Regions from separate parts of the Homo sapiens genome. Here all the other regions are linked to region 1. Evidence: promoter capture Hi-C in 16 types of primary human blood cells and fetal thymus (Javierre and others, 2016). All regions are on one chromosome and are shown on one strand. The core of a region is centred on a gene start or on the middle of the fragment in contact, and the rest is flanking DNA. Distances in the headings are between cores, read along the strand shown. Region 1 holds the start of ZNF260 (zinc finger protein 260). Region 2 holds the start of ZNF224 (zinc finger protein 224). Region 3 overlaps ZNF230 (zinc finger protein 230). Region 4 holds the start of ZNF222 (zinc finger protein 222).

Region 1 (3,502 bases), core at 802-3,301:
TTCTTTAAGCAGAGCAAACAAGATCAGGACTTTTATAGCAATAAAGAAGGGAATGGATATTGGGTTAGCCACATATGTGGCAAAACAATTAACAGTATCTACAATTTAATATATTCTCAAATAGCTTTCAATTATGTAGGAAGTTAAAATATCACTTAAAACATGAGATACATTTCAATATGTGCATATACAAATATGTGTATGTATATTTATGTATATGCATATATATCTACATATGTATATAGGTAAAACCAAACTAAGCATACATGATAAACTGAACCATTTGCTATATTAATAAGACAAAATTAGGAAGATTTTTCCAAAGAGTAACAGAAGATTCCAGGTTACTTGATAAGTCCTTTTAGGCATTTGCTAAGAAAAAAAAAATCAGCCGGGCGCAGTGGCTCATGCCTGTAATCCCAGCACTTTGGGAGGCCGAGGTGGACGGTTCACAAGGTTAGGAGTTCAAGACAAGCCAGGCCAACATAGTGAAGCCCCGTCTCTACTAAAAATACAACAACAAAAAAATTACCCGGGCGTGGTGGCCGGCACCTGTAATCCTAGCTACTCGGTAGGCTGAGGAAGGAGAATCGCTTGAACCTGGGAGGCGGAGGTTGCAGTGAGCCGAGATCGCGCCACTGCACACCAGCCCGGGCGACAGTGCGAGACTCCATCTCAAAAAAAAAAAAAATCAGGTCCTGGAAAAATAAAGCATTTCAGGAACAAAGAGAAAACTTCAAGGCACCTTAAACATGGCTTTTAGATATCACAACCGTTATTTCCTCTCCTCTGGGGAACCTCTCTTGGAGGACAGAAATGAGAAGGGAGACAATACACCTCCCCTAGGGCCCAAATGACAAGGCCAGAGCTTACTCTGCGTTCCCCTCCCCCGCCATGGGAGGGCTATCAGAGGAAACTGGGGCTTCCAACTCAAAACTCAGTGTCATAGAAAAATCCCCTTTACTATCACGGGGCCGAGCTGTCTTCTGCTCTCACATATGACTATGTGTGACATTTGGTCAAAGACACACAAACACAGTCTCAACTCCACGCACACCCAATGCTTCACAGTCACACACCCACCACTGTACACAAAGTCACAAGCACCCACCCTCCATACTCCCACACAAGGACACAGAGTCACAACTACATAAGTACAAAGCTCCCTATATCTGCACACAAACGAACATATGGTCACAGAGTTACAATCACACACCCACCGCGGGCACACAGTCACAGCTAACCCACACCCTCACACAGCGTTACACAGTCACACAATAACAGTCCTAACACAGGGACTCACGGGACACCCGCAGAGTCCTCCCCACATCCGTACACAAGGTGTCACACACAATCACAATCACACACACACTGTGCTAGGACATACATTCACAAAAACACAATTTCACAACCGCCCTTCTCGGCGCGTTCCGCCTGAACAGACTTAATACTCAGTCTCAACCTCCGCACCGGATTCCAGACGCTTCACCTCCAACCTCCTCCTGATCCTGTAGTCTCCGAGCCGACCCGCTCAGAGGCCAGCACCTGGGTCGCGTGCAGCTCTCCCCCGAGCCGCGGGAGTCGCGAGGGGAGGGGCCGAGGGCGCGGCGCCTTCTGGGAAATGTAGTTCAGCGCCACGCCCGCGATGAGCAAGATGGCGCCCGGCTTGAGCCCAGCCAAAGGGATTACCCTCATTCCCGAACCGTGTCTGAGAGTCTCCTGGGGTTCCTGGCTTAGTATCGCACCGTGGCTGTTACATAAAGTCAGCACAGCGTGTTTAAGCTGATGTTACACCACTACCCAATCCCAGGGATAGAGTAAACTAAGACTAAGGCCTTACACCCCTGCCCCGGCCAGGGAGACAGTCCCACAAGCTCTGGCGGAGGAAAAGTTCGCGCGAAAAGCTGACTCAAACCGCTGAACCTTCTGGGAAATGTAGTCTACCCTCAAAAGAGTGGCACGGAGGACGGGCCAAGATCTCTCGATTCCGTCCGGTTCTGAGTCGGGGCCTGGCCCAGCCCAGGAGACCTCTGGGAGCGCTGCCCGCGGAAGGAGTGCGCAGGCGCGGAATCTCCGACTTGCCATGGTCGTCTTTGTCTGCCGGTGAGTTGGGTTTCGGCCCTGTGGGACTTGGGTTTCTGGACACTGAAACGGGCCAGGGACGCTGGAGGGGAGGATTTGCAGTGCCTGCGACGGGGCTGGGAGTATGGAGGGGAGGAATCGCCTTCTATGATGTGCGGTGATCCGAGCTTGTGTGGCTGGGGGCAGGGGTACAGTTCGGGTGGGTTCGCGGGTGGGTGACCGAGAGTGTGAGGGGGTGTTGAGGGTGCAGAGTTAGTGAGAAACTGGTTCCAAGTTTGTGAGGATGGACGGATGGCTTTGTGAGGTAGTAACCTCTAAGCCTCACTTTTCTCATTTCTAAAATAATAAAGATGCGTTTTCTGGAAAATAGGAAACGGAAAAGGCTAAGGAATTGAGCGGATAAGTAATTTTAAAGGTGATTTTTTATATAAAAGCAGACCTATTGTGGAGTAGAAAACAAAATCAGCATTACCTTTCCATTATTTTTTTAAAGAGGCAAGATTTCGGAAAAACTTGTTACTGGGTGCCTGTACACCCAGTAGGCATTGACTTTTCTTAATACTTTGGAGAAACTTTGGTGCAGTTGCTTGGAGAAACCCTGAACTAAGGAATATCTTTAAGAGGTAGTTTCCAATAGCGCAGACGGCACAGAATTTGGAAGCTACTTGTCCTGCCTTTAGCGCAGAGGTCAAGAAACTCCCTAGTTCGTCAGTGAGGGCAGCAATCTCACTCCTAATTTAATCAGGGTTTCCCCAGCCTTTTGTAAATATAGGGGAAATTCTTTTCTTGTGTATACAAAGATAGAAGTATCCTATCTTCAAGTATCTTGTCACACTTATTCTTAACATATCAACATATTCAAGTATCTTGTCACACTTATTCTTAACATATTTTTCAATAAAATAAAAAAGTAACAGGGTTAATAGTTTTGAAATATACAGAAAAAGTAAAAGATACAAAGAAGACAGGACTTAGTTTCTGCTTTTCCCCTAACTATTGGTGTTTCTAAGTTTCTGGCCTTGATCATCTAAGTACTCCTATCAGCAACAACATTACACTGCCATCCATGGCTTCATCTAATACAGATGACTAATAAATGTCTGTTTCTGCTGGAGGCTTGTCCTGAGCTCCTAATCCATATTATCTAATTGCCCAATGTGCAGTCCACCTGGAAGTTACAGGGAACTTCAAGCTCTTTATGTCTAAAGGGCTCCTTCTTCCTGCAGTCTGCCTCCATCTATTTCCCCTCTGTACCTGTTTCAGCAATTTATAGCACTGTCTAGCCAGGTTCTAAGGCACTTACATCTTAGAGAAGGCTTCTAAGTAAGTTTGATCCTTTGATTTGTTATATCCCATTACAAATTGTAAACCAAGGTTTCTCAGCACACATAATCATAAATGTATATGTTTGCTGAATCAG
Region 2 (3,431 bases), core at 49-2,548, 7.6 Mb before region 1:
GTAAGCCACCGCGCCAGGCCCATTTTGTTCTTAATAAAGAAAAATAGAATGCTGTACAATGACATGGTTCTATAAGAATACAAAATATTTGTAATGATTGAAACAAAATAGTTGACAACATTTTTAGAAACTCAGAAAATTTCAAGCCCCTAAGTCTTGCTTTCCCCACCTAAGTCCAACTAGTTCCTCTGCCTCAGTGACAACGTATCCCAAGAGAAGATCAAATCAGGCTCTGACCCAGACTGCTTAGGTTCCAACCCCAGCTCCACCTCTCACTAGTCGGGTGCCTATGCGCTCTGTGTCTCACTTTCGTTTTTAAAATAGAAAAAAGCAATACTTCTCCACAGAGCCACGGTGTGGCGTAAATTTATTTGTATAAAGCCCTTAGAATGAAGTTACTAATTAAGACTTAATTATTATCGACCCCCATGCCCGAGGACACAACCTATACACTCTCGGTTGGGGTGAGCATCTCGGTCAAAGAGCCAAGGACCACTCACGTAGAGCTTTGCCCTCAGAAGCCAAGAAGTCCCTCCCTGCAGCTCTTCTGGAAAGGTCGGGTTGGGGAACGAGAAAGCTGTGAAACACCTTGACCGCGTCGCCGTCCCCCATAAAAGTTAAATGCTCCTTTCCCTTCATGAAAGTGGACGCAACCCTCGCTCTCCTAAAAAGAGGTCAGAAGGCTTCCGGGATCATCCAGCGTCCTGCAGGGATCAGGGAGAAGGGCCGAGGCCCCTGCAGCTGGAGCTCTGACCCCACCCGGTCCTTCGTGGGAAATTAACAAGAGACCACCAGTCACCAAGTGACAGGGACTGCTTTAAGGCTCTCATTTGTGTTACCTCTTCCAGTTCCCAAAACGATTCCATTAGGATGGCCCTAAAGTCCCCATTTTAAAGAACAGTAACGGGAAACCCAAGGAGATTAACACCCCAACGTTATATCGAGAAGAAGTGGCCACGCGCGTGGGGTGCAGGGGGCGGAGTGGGCGAGCTCAGAGCCCCGGAAACCCTGAAACCAGGTGAGACGCGACCCAACCAAGTACCAATGCCCCCGGGAAGCGAGGACAGACCCAAGCCCAAGAAGGTGCCACGGACGAGAACGCAAACAGCGGCCCTTGCCCCTCCAAACCTCTACTCTCCGACGAGGCCCCTTTTCCCCTAATTCGATCACCAGTTCTTTGAGGATCCAATGCGTAGGTCCAGGAAATTCAGAAGGGCCTGCAACGCGCGGAACTGCCCCAAACTATCGCGGAAAAACTGCAGCAACCTCAGTCCCCGAGCGGAAGTGTCCGCGACTCCACCGAATGTTTGGACTCCACTTCCCAGAATTCCCCGGGACCCGCCAGCCGGAGCCAAACTGACCGCGACTCCACTGAGCGTCTGGACTACACTTCCCAGAATTCCCTGGGACCCAACTGCCGGAGCTAAACCGACCGCGATTCCACTGAGGGTCTGGACTGTACTCCTGCAGCATTACACTCAAAGGGAAGTGTTGACGACTACTGGGAAGCCCTTGACCACTCTTCCCACGGGGAACGAATCTCGTACCCCCGAGCGCCTGTTGGGAAATGTGGACTTCTACCCTGAGAGTCGTCCTTCCCTCTCCCTGGGTGCCTAAGAGAAAATACCGTATAGAAAGGAATTCCTGAAGTCTAAACCCCTCTAGTGAGGACAGGAGTGTTACTGGAAAGGGAACAAGCGAGATGATACACTCTTCAAATAAGTTTTGCCAGTGGTAAGAAATGGCATGTAGTTTTAATTTATAACTCTTGTAAAGATGGCATATTCTTGCATATTTTCAGGTGTCATTATTACATTTTTTGTAAATTGTCCAGATGTTTTGCCCACTTTCTTATTGAGTTTTTGGTTTTATCCCTCACTTTTCAAGCACTGTTCTTATATTCATGATATTAACATTTTATCTCGCAAATATTTTCTCAACAAAAACGTTTTTTTTTATTGTTTTATCTATGCAAAACATTTTAATGTATTTTATTATTTAAAACATCTCTATTGAGGTGTAATGCACAAAACGTGAAATTCACCATTTTAGGATATATGTAGTACAAATAAAAAGTTAGGAAACATTTTCATCACCCCAAAAACCCCATACCCACTAAGCAGTCACTGTCTAACACTAATCTCTGTCCTATTGAATTACCTATTGTGGACATTTCATATAAATGGAATTATACATTATGGAACCTTTTGTTTCTGACACCTTTCACTTAGCATCCTGCTTCTTTTTTTTTTTTTTGAGACGGAATCTCAAAAAAAGTGCCAGGCTGGAGTGCAGTGGCACGATCTTAGCTCACTGCAACCTCCGCCTCCCGGGTTCAAGCGATTCTCCTGTCTCAGCCTCCCGAGTAGCTGGGACTACAGGCGCGTGCCACCACGCCTGGCTAATTTTTCTGTATTTTTAGTAGAGACGGGGTTTCACCGTGTTAGCCAGGATGGTCTCGATCTCTTGACCTCGTGATCCTCCCGCCTCGGCCTCCCAAAGTGCTGGGATTACAGGCGTGAGCCACCGCGCCCTGCCAGCATACTGCTTTTAAAGTTCATCCACATCACAGCATGTACCAGTACTTCATAATATTTTATGTTTCTACTACGATTTGTTTTTTTTGTTTGCTTTGTCTTGTTTTGTTTTGAGGTGGGGTTTCCCTCTTGATGCCCAGGCTGGAGTGCAATGGCACGATCTCAGCTCACTGCAACCCCCGCCTCCTGGGTTAAAACGATTCTTCTGCCTCAGCCTCCCAAGTAGCTGGCATTACAGCCATGCGCCACCACACCCAGCTAATTTTTTTGTATTTAGTAGAGACAGGGTTTCACCAGGTTAGTCAGGCTGGTCTCGAACTCCTTACCTCAGGTGATCCGCCCACCTCAGCCTCCCAAAGTGCTGGGATTACAGGCTTGCGCCACAATTTGTTTATCCATTCATTGATTGAGGGACATTTGGGTTCTTTCCACCTTTTGGCTGTAGTCAATAGTGTTGCTACAAACAGTGGTGTACAAGTATTTGTTTCATCACCTACTTTCAATTCTTTGGGGTATATACCTAGATATGAAATTTAGTGATTCATATGGTAATTCTATGTTGGGAACCACGAAACAATTTTCCACAGCAACTGCACCATTTTTACATTCCCACCTTCAGTGTGTGAGGGTAGTAATTTCTCCACATCCTCTCCAATACTTATTTTGTATATATGTATGTATAAAATATATATGTATATGTATATGTGTGTGTGTATAAATTGAAAACGGGGTCTCCCTGCGTTGTGCAGGCAGAATTGCAGTGGCTATTCACAGACAACATCTCACTACTGATCAGCATGGGAGTTCTGACCTGCTGTGTTTCCACCCTGGGCCAGTTTACCTCTCCTGAGGCAACCTGGTAGTCCTCTGCTCCTGGGAGATCACCATGTTGAT
Region 3 (3,284 bases), core at 485-2,984, 7.5 Mb before region 1:
TCCTTCTCTTTGGGTTGCTGTCTCCATCATCCAAAACTTTTCTTCCCTTAGGAAGTGGAAAGGGTGGAATGGTTGATGCCCTGTGAACATGCAAAGTCATGTGCTTAATACCAATTCATTCTAGGTAATATCAAGGTAAAATTTACTGGAAATTTAAGTTCCCACTGCATACACAAACTTGAATACTCTAGGATACAAAGCCACTCCTGAGGCCTGATGTACCATTACAGAGGGTGCCTGTGCTCACCCACTGACAGCAGGTTCGTGAAGTTCTCAAGCATCACGTCTTGGTACAGCTTCCTCTGGGCAGGGTCCAGTAGCCCCAGTTCCTCCTCAGTGAAGAACACAGCCACATCCTTGAAGGTCACTGCCTCCTATAACATCAAGGATACATAACCTCAATCCTATGACCATGGACTACTGGGGGAGGAGCAGCATTGAGCAGGCGGAGAGGAGAAGTGGAGGTCAACTTATAGATTTCCCACTCATTCTGTCTGTATCCTGACAGTGATTTTCCTGAGCTCCACCAGAAGTGCAATCATGAAAAAGACCTCCTGTATTTTTACTTTGTGCACTTACTGAGTCTCCTTGTAAGTAACCCCTTAGGATTTCAAATGGTGCATCCTGGGCTACACCTATATAGGTTTCAATGAATTTTGCCAATTGCCCCAGTTGCCCCAGCAACAATGAGCAATTCAGTCTCAACCTTGTTTGATGAGGCTTATTGTCCTCCTCTCTCAGACCCAAACCCTGGATGCTATCACTTTTCTTTAGTATTTGCCAAACTAACAGGTTTTAGGTAACTATTTTCAAAGTAGCCTTGGATCCATTCTCCCCACTTTCTTGTTTATAGGTCTCAAGAATAACCATAAATGTGCTAGTTATGCAGTGTCCTTCCCAGGGAAGATAACATCTTTTTATTTTTTTTTATGCCTTCTTTGGTTCTAGTCCAATCCATAAAAGATAATATCTTGAGTTAGAGAGGAACTGCTCAGTAAGTCATGTTACCCCTGAGGCATATAGCCTGGGACAGGCTGCCTCTTGGGGTGCCTCAGCTATGGTGCAAATGGGGCAAGTGCAGTCGTGACTCCACCCACTCTAGGCAGCTTTCTTAAGCCTTGGAGGACTGGCTCACAGTGGATCATAGGCTTCTGTTGTCCCTTGCTACCTACATGTAATAAATCTGCTTTATGTAATTTGTCATACATGAGTGTGCTCTCTCATGGTAGACTCGCCAAGTCTGTAACTAGTGAACCTGTTCCATGGAATTGGTGCAGCCAGCAGGGTCCAATTTGACAGAACTCTGGACTGGCAAAGGGGGAGCACTTATATCCTGGGCAATTGGCCCAGTGCTGTGATGGCAGCCTGGGGGCGCAGGCTGGACAGCAGCTTGATGATTTATAAAGAAGACAGAATGATAAGCGGGACACAGGCCACCCCTCCACAGATGTGAGCTGGCTGCATGGATTGAGACAGAAGGACAGAATACGGAAACACAGGAGCTTGGTGTGTGATCCGCTGATTGCGACACCTTAAATAATAGCTCATTCCTGGGGCCAGAGGACTCAGGAGGTGGGTGAAGTGGGTCAGAGGGTCCCTGGAGCATCTAAGAGAAATGGAGCCAACATGCGCAATGTGGGCCTCCACAGAAAGGGGGACTAACTATCTGATGGACAAGTATGAAGAAAACCAGAAGGACATGTTATCTTGGTGTATAGAGCACTCTTGACATAAGGAACTCCATCATCAATACAAATACAGTTATGAATGTACAAGGAACAGCACAAGAAGAAAAATCAGGCTAATTTGAGAGCAAGGAGGTGAAGAAGTGGGAGCACTGTTCATTCCTACTAATTTTTCTACTCCATAATGTAACAGTAAAAAACAAAACAAAACCCAAACCAAAAACCAAATGCAAAGTCAACACAAAAGAGACAAAGGAAGCAACTGGCACACAACAGGTCCCAAATGCCCATTTCCTCCTTGAGTCTTCCCAAGACAGAGAAAAATATATGACAATATGAGCAATAAGATGGAATTTTAATAGCAAGAGAGGTGAGCTCTACTCACCTTGAATGTGGTCATTTTTCCTACTACTTTTTGGAGTCTTCAGTGTCTTGAGTAATGGAGCACAAAGGAAGGTGGAATTGTGCCTGGAAAATGCCAGAGACAGCAAAAGAGAGACATGAAATGGTGGCTGGGGAGGCTGTGTAGCAACAAGCACATGTATTATGAATGATCACAGCAGCATTATTCATACTAACCCCAAAACTGTGCACAACCAAAATGCCTTCCTCTGGGTAAATGGATAGAAAAATCATGGCATATCCATATAATGGAATCTAATTTGGAAATTAAAAGGAATGAAGTACCAACCCATGCTACAACATGCACAAACCTTGGAAACATCATAAGAGAAAGAAGCCAGTCACCAAAATCCATGGATTAGATGATTCCATTTATATGAAATGTCCGAATAGGCAAATGTATACATAGAGGAAAAGTAGGTTAGTGGTTGCTCCAGATTTGGGGTGAGAATGAGGTTTAATTGTAAATGGGCACAGAGTCCAACTGAGGGTGAAAAATAACTAAACTGAATTATGATGATGGTTACTCCACTTTACAAAGTTCCTAAAGATCACTGTACTCCTGAAATGAGTGAATGCTTTATGTAAAATATACCTCAATAGAGTTGAAAAAAAATTGCTAATCCACATGTCATTTACCTTCATAAGACTGAATTCTGAGTCCATATTGTTGGGAGATTTATACTTGAACAAACAAATGAATAAATGAAGAGAACTAGAAGTTCATCTTTAGTAGAATGCCCACTAATAATGTACCTTCCAATAAGAAACTTGAGTTTTTTTAAAAAAGGTAACTTTACAGCGGACAAATCTGAAAGGCATCATCTTGGCCAAGTGAACACAGTTGAGATCACCAGTGAAGGGACAAACCACATCATGTGAACCCTGTTATGTTGCAATAAAGAGGAAACCTCATCACTTGTGCAATATCCTTACCAACAATACATAATCTGAAACTAAACATGAAATATATCAAACTCCAAATGAACATCTTTCTCCAAAATAACTTTCCTATTAAAAAAAAAACCACCATGTTTATAAAAGACAAAGACTGTGGAATCTTTCTAGACTAAAGAAACTGTGGAATGTGACAACTAAAGACAATGCATAAACTGGACTTTGAATGGCATTGCAGGTGAAGGGTGGGGTAGGGGACACAGTCATAAGGACTTTATTTTTTTATTTTTTGAGACAGAG
Region 4 (3,459 bases), core at 530-3,029, 7.5 Mb before region 1:
GTCCTCACCCACTGAGAGCAGGTTCCTGAAGTTCTCAAGCATCACATCTCGGTACAGCTTCCTCTGGGCAGGGTCCAGCAGCCCCAGCTCCTCCTCAGTGAAGATCACAGCCACATCCTTGAAGGTCACTGCCTCCTACAACATCAAGCAGATGTCACCTCAATCTTACGGCCAAAGACTATTGGGAGACAGCAGCATTGCACTGGCACAAGGGACAAGTGTAAAGTTGTTTTGGATCTTGAGAGACATAGGTCAGCTTATAGATTTCCTACTTATTCTGTTTGTGTCCTGACAATGACTGATTAGGCAATAGGGGTTTGGAATGGAGACTGCACACACCAGTCAACAGGGTGTGTCCTGAATAAATAGTGGGTAAAGGACATTTACTGAGATGCTATCTCTAACTCCACTTCAGGAAAGCTTGCTGCAGAGTTAGAGTGATATAGTCCAAATGCTCTGTTTGAGTCGCGGGCCCTTTGACGAAAATGAGACTGAGGCAGGAGAATCACTTGAACCCGAGAGGCGGAGGTTACAGTGAGCCAAGATTGCACCACTGCACTCCAGCCTAAGCAACAAGAGCGAAACTCTGTAAAAAAAAAAATATATATATATATAGAGAGAGAGAGAGAAAGAAAATAGTAGATAAGGTTAAAAAAATTAAAAAGCAAAAAGCAAACAAACAAAAACTCCTATAGAAGTCCAAGCCCCTGAGCCTTGCCTCAAGGTGCCTTCAATCAAGTCCTAACTTACGTTCTCCACCTGTTCCCAGCTAGTACCTCTGCCTCAATGAGAATTGCATTCAAGAGATGATCAACTCAGGCTCTAACCTGGACTGCCTAGGTTTCAACTCCTGCTCCACCTGTGTCTCACGCCCATCTTTAAAATGAAAAAAGCAGCACCTCTCCACAGTGCCACTGTGAAGATCATGTATTTTGGGGTATAAAGTACTTGGAATAAAGTTACCAATTAAGGCTTAATCATTATCGACACCCATGCCCGAGGGACAAATCCTACACACTCTCGGTTGAGGTAAGCATCTCTGTCAAAGAAAAAAAGCCAAGGATCACTCACGTAGAGCTTTGCCATCAGTAGCCAAGAAGTCCCTTCCTGCAGCTCTTTTAGAAAGGTCGGGCTGGGGAAAAAGAAAGCTGTGAAACACCCTGACCGTTTTGCCGTCCCCCATAAAAGTTAAATGCTCCCCTCACTTTCCTAAAAAGAGGTCAGAAGGCGTCAGGGATCATCCAGCGTCCTGCAGGGATCAGGCAGAAGGGCCGGCGCCCCTGCAGCTGGAGCTCTGACCCCACCAGAGGACCTGACAGGCTTCGTGGGAAATTAACAAGAGACCACCAGACACCGAGTGACAGGGACTGCTTTTAAGGCTCTCATTTGTGTTACCTCTTTCAGGTCCCAAAATGAATCCATTAGGATGGTCCGAAAAGTCCCGTTACAAAACAAACAAACAAACGAACCAGCAATGGAAGATAAACGGACATTAAGTGACACTCCACACCACACTGAAAGGGGCTGCACACGTAGGGAGGAGGGAGGCGGACTAAGCGAGGTCAAAGTAGGGCACACCGGGCCGCGCCAATCCCACTCCCTGAGACCCTAGCAGAGCCCCCCGACGCCAGAAGGCTCAGCTGACTGGAACGGCAATCCCCGCCCGCGCCCCTCCAAACCTCTGCTCTCCGCCCAGGCTTCTTTTCTCCTGAATCGATCATTGGGTGGTTGCGAGCCCCAAGGAAAGGAGACTCGTTCGGAAGGACTCGCAAGATGTGGAAATGACTCAAACTACTGTGGTAAATGAAATAGCAACGTCACAGTTGGGGACCGGAAGTGCTCGAGCCTCCACAGAGCGTGTGGACTCCACTTCCCAGAATTCCCCGGACTCGCCCGTGTGAGACAAAGGGCCCGCGACTCAAACAGAGCATTTGGACTATATCACTCTAACTCTGCAGCAAGCTTTCCTGAAGTGGAGTTGGAGATAGCATTTCAGTAAATGTCCTTTACCCACTGCTTATTCGGGACACACCCTGTTGACTGGTGCGTGCAGTCTCCATTCCAAACCACTATTGCCATTCCTATCGCTTCCATAAAGCCTAAGAAATCAAATATTTTCTTTCTCTGCCTTCATCTAGCTAGAAATTTTCATGGGACACAATTTTGGGAAGTGAGACATTAGGAGAAGTGAGCTGTCCTCTCCTGACAAGAAATGTGCTTGGCAGGCTGTGAGTACACGAGGAGTTGAAAGAGTAAAAAGGTGATCGTCTCAGTGGACTGTAGGTATTGGCGAGGTTCTAATATTACTGATGCTAGCATGCTGGTGGGACCAAGGTGGAAATACAAGTCAAAGTTGTTGGAGAGTAGTGCTGCAAATTATTATGGAGGAATATTTGCTAGAAAATGACGAGGTCTAAAATATGACCATGGGAGAGAGTGTCCCTTGATATTTCACATGAATCTCAGGTGGATTTTTTCATTTCTGAGAAAAATGTTACTGTGATTAAGGATTGCATTGAATCTATAGATATAGGTATTGACAGCCTTGCAATATCAAGTCGCCCAATCCATTAATAATGGATATATCTCCATTTATTTGCGCCTTCTTTAATTTTTTTTTTTTTTTTTTTGAGACAGAGTCTCACTCTGTCGCCCAAGCTGGAGTGCAGTGGCACAATCTTGGCTCACTGCAACCTCCGCCTCCTGAGTTCAAGCGATTCTCCTGCCTCAGCCTCCCAAGTAGCTGGGATTACAGGCACGTACCACCATACCTGGCCAATTTTTGTATTTTTAGTGAAGACAGGGGTTTCACCAGGTTGGCCAGGCTGATCTCGAACTCCTGGCCTCAAGTTATTCGCCTGCCTGGGCCTCACAAAGTGCTGGGATTACAGGCATAAGCCACCATGCCTGGGGTGCCTTCTTTAATTTTCTTTAGTAAGATGTTGCAAAATTCAGTGTCCAAGTGTTTCTTGTCATTGGTTAAGACAGTTCCTAAGTAATTTATTTATTTAATGCTATTGCAAAGGGAACTATTTTCCTTTTCAGATTAATTGTTTTTGTATAGAAATACAACTGCTTCTTCTATGTAGATATTTTTCCTGCAACTTTCTGACTTTACTAGCTCTAAGAGTTTTTTTTTCTTGTGAATTCTTTAGAATTTTTATATATAAGAACATGTCATTAGCATATAGACAATTTTACCTCTGTTTCCAATTTTAATAGCTTTATTTTCTTTTTCTATCTAATTGTTCTGCATAGAACTTCCAATACTACATTGACTAAATGTGGGAAAAGTGGAGAAAACTCATTGTGTTCCTGATATTAGAAGAAAAGCTTTCAGTCCTTCACCATTGAGTATGACAATCAGCTCTGAGAATTTCCATATATAGCCTTTATTTTGCTGGGGTAGTTTATTCTCCTTCTAGTTATTTGGTATTTCAATCATGAAAAGGTGCTAGG

The links. Contacts are between HindIII fragments. The CHiCAGO score rates a contact against its expected background, and 5 or more counts as called.
Region 2: the fragment with the promoter of ZNF224 here is called in contact with the fragment with the promoter of ZNF260 in region 1 in 5 of 17 cell types (non-activated CD4 T cells, total CD4 T cells, monocytes and 2 more); the score reaches 12.8 in non-activated CD4 T cells.
Region 3: a contact is called between a fragment that was not itself captured here and the fragment with the promoter of ZNF260 in region 1, in 1 of 17 cell types (non-activated CD4 T cells). The highest score is 8.6, in non-activated CD4 T cells.
Region 4: a contact is called between the fragment with the promoter of ZNF222 here and the fragment with the promoter of ZNF260 in region 1, in 5 of 17 cell types (activated CD4 T cells, non-activated CD4 T cells, naive CD8 T cells and 2 more). The highest score is 13.3, in activated CD4 T cells.

The regions. Positions count from the first base shown.
Region 1 is chr19:36,526,820-36,530,321 of GRCh38, reverse strand. It overlaps ZNF260 (zinc finger protein 260), which reads left to right and starts at 2,051. Exons shown (of 3, transcript NM_001166037.2): 1 at 2,051-2,103. RefSeq lists enhancers at 1,324-1,523, 1,335-2,043, 1,674-2,303, 2,044-2,754. The HindIII fragment of the contact is 4,591 bases long and covers 1-3,502 here.
Region 2 is chr19:44,092,228-44,095,658 of GRCh38, reverse strand. It overlaps ZNF224 (zinc finger protein 224), which reads right to left and starts at 1,298. Exons shown (of 6, transcript NM_001321645.3): 1 at 1,129-1,298. RefSeq lists an enhancer at 1,379-1,488. The HindIII fragment of the contact is 10,144 bases long and covers 1-3,431 here.
Region 3 is chr19:44,005,880-44,009,163 of GRCh38, reverse strand. ZNF230 (zinc finger protein 230) reads right to left here. Exons shown (of 5, transcript NM_006300.4): 2 at 2,071-2,153; 3 at 248-374; 4 at 1-80. The coding sequence starts at 2,085. Among named protein-coding and RNA genes, the nearest start is that of ZNF230, 4.6 kb to the right of the region's middle. The HindIII fragment of the contact is 6,269 bases long and covers 1-3,284 here.
Region 4 is chr19:44,023,699-44,027,157 of GRCh38, reverse strand. ZNF222 (zinc finger protein 222) reads right to left here and starts at 1,779. Exons shown (of 4, transcript NM_001129996.2): 1 at 1,680-1,779; 2 at 9-135. The coding sequence starts at 1,721. It overlaps ZNF222-DT (ZNF222 divergent transcript), which reads left to right and starts at 1,876. Exons shown (of 3, transcript NR_184028.1): 1 at 1,876-2,043; 2 at 2,139-2,260; 3 at 3,259-3,459. RefSeq lists enhancers at 1,484-1,533, 1,764-1,813. The HindIII fragment of the contact is 1,542 bases long and covers 423-1,964 here.